Linked DNA regions of Homo sapiens: region 2 is linked to region 1. Evidence: promoter capture Hi-C in 16 types of primary human blood cells and fetal thymus (Javierre and others, 2016). All regions are on one chromosome and are shown on one strand. Each heading gives the region's core, a stretch centred on a gene start or on the middle of the fragment in contact. The rest is flanking DNA. Distances are from core to core; before and after follow the strand shown.

Region 1 (2,552 bases), core at 24-2,523:
TGTATATAACTGTATTGATTTATCTATCTGTATACCTACACACACACATATACACACACACACACACGTATATATGTTCATGTCTTTGGGTGTGGGATATCAGAAGCTCAGTTTGGACTATGTATGTGATATGAAAGTAGTATATACAGCAATTCTCCATTAGCTGGTAGTAGACTAGAAATATATTATCTATTGCCCAGTAGAATTTCCATTAGGATCCTTGCATTTTTCGTTTTCTTATAATCTAATTTTCTGCTTTTTATTTTTAAAAAGATAGTAGCTGCATCAAAGTAGTTTGTTTTGGTTTTTGTTTTTTGTGTCAAGGTTGACTATGGCGGATCATTCAGCAGATGTAAGTACGTGTTCACTTGAATTAAACAGCATTGTAAACAACTTCAAATTACTAAGTAAAGGTATTTATTTGAAACATAGAAATACTAAAAAAAATTAATGTCATGGGGAAAAATGCTGGTTTATTACAGAATATCAATATAACTGATGTAATGAATTTAAAACATTAAGCCAAATGACGTTGATTTATATTGCATTGCAGGTAAAATAGACAATCAAATGTACTCTGTCCATCCCAGTCTCAGTGTATCAATTAAAGCAACTCTTGGAGTCTACCAGTCACCATACAGTGGCTCTGTTCCAAACTATCAAAAAGGGAAGATTTTGTCAAGAGGAACTACTTGGCTACATTTTCCAAGCATCTATTGTTATCTATCTAAGCATTCGGTCTCTTCAGACGAAAAAACAGAAGGAAATTATTAAATGTTTGACAAGTTGATAATTTAGGATCACTGTATGTCACTGTATAAGAATTGCCTATTCTTACTCTATTCCCAATCTCTGAGGGAAGTGGCAATATGATTCTAGATTATTTAGAACAATAAAAATCTATACACGGAAGCTGCGTCTAAGAAACGAATATATAGTGCTTTGCACTCGACTGGCCCATTGTCAGCATCCCGCACTTGTTCTTTACCTAACTTGTGTGGCTTGCATATTGCAATCTGTATTACAATCCAGACGCGCTCTGCAGATTACAGATTGGATCCACAGAAAGCAGTTTGGATGGTTGAAATTCCCTCCACCAGAGGGCGACTCAGAGCTTTCCCCTGTAGCTCAGAGCTTTGTGGAAGGGGAACCCTGCTGCCTGTTCTTCCCCACAGCGACACTGACAAGTTGATCCAGCCGCGCTGGGCTCGAGCCTGTGCGGCAGGATGGAGCCAAGGGAGAGCGTGGTGCGGGGGCGTGGGGAAATCGGGTTGCCCCAGCCGTTACTGGTCCGCGCAGTCAGGGCATCCTCCGCATCCTCCACATCCTTCCATGGCTCTGAAGAATAAATTCAGTTGTTTATGGATCTTGGGTCTGTGTTTGGTAGCCACTACATCTTCCAAAATCCCATCCATCACTGACCCACACTTTATAGACAACTGCATAGAAGCCCACAACGAATGGCGTGGCAAAGTCAACCCTCCCGCGGCCGACATGAAATACATGGTGAGAAAGAACCAGGGCTGGGCTCTTAAATCCCTGACTCATCCTGAGGTATCTGGGTGATAAATTTCACGGACTTAACTTGTACTAATTCAATCCGGACTTTACATATATGCAGTTAAAAAGAAAAAAATTCACACCTTGGTTGGGCTGTCTCCTCCAGAGTCATAGGAGTGAACAAGAAAGGAAGACTTGAAGCTGTTCCTTGCCTCTTGCGGGGAAGGTGGGGATGCTGGAGCAGTGTTTGGAAGTTGCTTTGTTGCACCACTAAAGTTATAAGTACTGAACACAGGATTATTTTGTTTTCTTTCTTCCATTTTTTAGCTAGCAATTTCCACCCCCCACAACCAAGATACAAGATACCAAAGAAATAGCCCAGGAATGGAGATTCTCTTGTTCTCTTACTTATTTTTATATCATATGAATCCAAGATCAAAACAACACTTCATGTGTAGTATTATTTGAAAAAAATACAGTACTCTATTGAAGAATAAGCATAAAAAGCATTGGATTATTAAATAATCCATAGAATTTACAAAATTTTAAATACTTGACTATGAATTGTATGATTGGAAATTTCCCTTGCATTGTAACTTTTTCTTGTTTATAAATGCATCACTATGAGCATAAACGTTGATAGTATTAGTCTATTTTATGTGCTATGCAGATGTAGATACAGTATAACTCATATCTATTCCAGCTTTCTTCTTTTCTATCCAGTGGAAAACAAAAGTAATTATAAAATCACAACTCAGGCATTAAAATAAGTTCAAAACTGTACTAGTCTACTGTATAAGAAAATTATATTTTGATGGAGAAAGATTCAAATATGTATCAGAAATGAAACAAGAATAAACTAATCTCTTTAATGCAGAATTGTTAAGATATTTTAATATATAATGTTTACCAGCTTGGGGTTGTCCAAGGCATAAATTAACTAGAAATAAATCTTCAACGGAATTCAGAAATACTAATATTAGTATTAATATGGTTGATGCCTTTAGAGTTTTATTGTAAATGTATGATAAAAAAGAGTAAATGTGGGGTTA
Region 2 (2,552 bases), core at 17-2,516, 490 kb after region 1:
TTAATTCTACTTATACAAAAGCCTGAGTTCCAATACTTAATATCTTCCGATAATTACTTGGCCAGTAATCCACATCAAATCCCCACACTCCAATGATTCATTTTGAAAAGCTCCTAAACAAGCACCAACTCGGCAATCTTCCACCCTGATTCTCTTGGATGGCGAAAAGAAAATACTTCAGAGTTGCTCACCACTGGGCGGCACTTGGAGTGAGGTCATGTTTGGAAACAGGAGACGAACCAATAGCAAAGATTAATGGGGCTTTGGAAAAGCAAGTTTAAACAATATGTTCATGAATCGGGGGTAAATGTAAACCAATCAAAAAGGGAAAATATGTATCCATCTTTTACGCTTATATTTTTGGCCACCCTGTCGAACAGCTGCATCTTGCTGCCTTATTGGCTATCCCAGGCCAAGGATAGTTTACAAGCTGAAGTCACAGGCTCAGCTGGGGAACTGAGTTGCGGCGGGGGTGGGGGGGGGAATTAGGTCAAGGAGGATTCAGTGCTAAAGGAGGACTGTGATTTGCAATGGTTTTTTAAAATCCCATAACTGCTCTCTTACTAAACAGGTTTTTAGTGGTGTCATAACTGACATGGCCATTTTCCTAAGTTATTGCCTCATTGGAATTTCAGTAAATAGTGCTAGTCTTCCCCATGATCATGGCAAGAGAAAGGTAGGTAGAAAAAGACAAGCATCTCCAGAAGTGATAAGCAACCCAAATCTTATGATACAAGTGATTCATCCTAAGAGCCAGAGTCAAGATAAATGCTAAGAAAGCTGATCTGTGTTGCCACTTCTCACATACATCCGCAGACTAACATTCGAGGTTGAAAATCAACATAAATGTTCTTACTCACCTTCTTCTATTCAACAAGGCAGATATTTCAATTGCCTATAATTCCCCACTATGGAACTCATTACAACTAGTGCCATTTTGAATAAAGGAAAAGTTAATCTGTAAATTTTTTTATTTTTGATACAGGGAAAGTATGGTAATTTGTAATGTTTTATAGGGTTTCGTGCCTTGTATACTTAAAGAGGAAAAATCACAAAAAGCCCTATCTATTGTATGCTTAGTGTCTAGAAGAACTTTTGTCAAATCTCCAAGTCAGTATAAAAATAATTTTTTTTACCTTAACAACTGATAGTCTAAGACCAAGTCCAAAGCTGTGGGAAAGGACACAGAGGCAGATCATTTCTCCTAGTCCAAGCCATGTGTAAATAAAGGAGGCAATCACATTTGGGGAATCAATCAGGGTGCAACTTGATCTGCAATCTCATAACTGCCCCATAAGGCTGCATTATCAGTCACCAGAGAGTGGTCTATTCTCTGTTAAAGACAGATGCTAGAGAAGAAGCAAGACCCCATTGCAATCCACACTCCATGTCACAGACTGGAAAGATGGACACAAAGCAGGGATCAAAACCCAGCCAGATCATCTGAAGATATCCAAAGAGATTCCTACTGGACATCAACCTCTAGATCATAAGAGAGAAACCCCAGGTGTCCTGATGACCCAGGTAGAAAGGAAGGTGACCCTTTCACATTCTTGCGTAGAACAGAGTAACTTATTGTAGGGGTCTACGAGGCAAGCGTGTCATGAAATTCCACATCCCTCTGTCTAGCACTCTGCATTTCTAGGCACCTAGCTCCACCTAGGCCTAGGAGACACACTGAGAAACTTGTAAGGACACATTTGAGACTTCTAGGATTGGCTGCCATTGGGCAAACATCCCACGTAGATGTCTCTGGGACTGGAGGAAATGACTGGCTCAAGTCCAATCCAAGTTATGGCTCCAGCCAAAGATTCTGGGGTGAGAGATGGGCTGGAATGCCAGGGCAAACAGGAATACTTAGAAGGGAATGAGACAGAAAGCTGAATGTATCTGTCATGTCTGGCAGCATGACATGGAGTATGGCAGGCATGTGTAAGGAGCAGACTGAGGAAGGAGCAAGGGTGGAGCAGACACGAAGATGAGAGCAAGGCTGTCTCTAGGCTTTCTCTGATAAATCTGCAGCAGCAAGAGCCTATAAGTGTCAGGGCTAGTTCACGACCACAATCCAGATGGGCTCTGAAACAGGTTTGAGCTGGGGTGGTTAGTAAAGGGCAGTAAATTCAGCTGGAAATACAAAGAAAATGGAACAAATGTCCTCTTTTATTTTAAATCTAATGACATAAAGTTCAAAGACAAATTTATAAAATTGATCATTTATTTAGCACACTCCATACACCAGATATTCTGCTAAGCTCACAACTTCATTCGATTATCCAACCGTCTCACCAGACAGATATGAAGACATTTTACAGAGAAGATGCTTATAGGGAGAAGCTCAAAGAGGTTAAGTAATTCCCTCTTCTTCCCTCTCCCCAAAATACTACCATATCTCTGTCTTCAAAGTCTGCCCAATGCCATAACACTGGTTTTCCTCATCAAGATATGACCTCCAGTTTTAATCTTTCCAATATTAACCTTTCTATTATCTGGCCACGTAATGCTGGAAAGGTCATTAAACTTCTTGAGGCCCCGGTTTCTTCATTTTTGCCAGA

Evidence for each region. The method cuts DNA at HindIII sites, captures the fragments that hold promoters and counts their contacts. A CHiCAGO score of 5 or more calls a contact.
Region 2: a fragment that was not itself captured here is called in contact with the fragment with the promoter of GLIPR1L1 in region 1 in 1 of 17 cell types (neutrophils); the score reaches 6.5 in neutrophils.

Annotation. Positions count from the first base shown.
Region 1 is chr12:75,333,397-75,335,948 of GRCh38, forward strand. GLIPR1L1 (GLIPR1 like 1) reads left to right here and starts at 1,274. Exons shown (of 6, transcript NM_001304964.2): 1 at 1,274-1,506. The coding sequence starts at 1,333. It also overlaps a transcript of CAPS2 not described here. RefSeq lists a silencer at 1,011-1,120. The HindIII fragment of the contact is 15,549 bases long and covers 1-2,552 here.
Region 2 is chr12:75,820,755-75,823,306 of GRCh38, forward strand. The region is part of intron 1 of LOC105369844 (a long non-coding RNA gene); the gene reads right to left. Among named protein-coding and RNA genes, the nearest start is that of PHLDA1-AS1, 210 kb to the right of the region's middle. The HindIII fragment of the contact is 5,786 bases long and covers 1-2,552 here.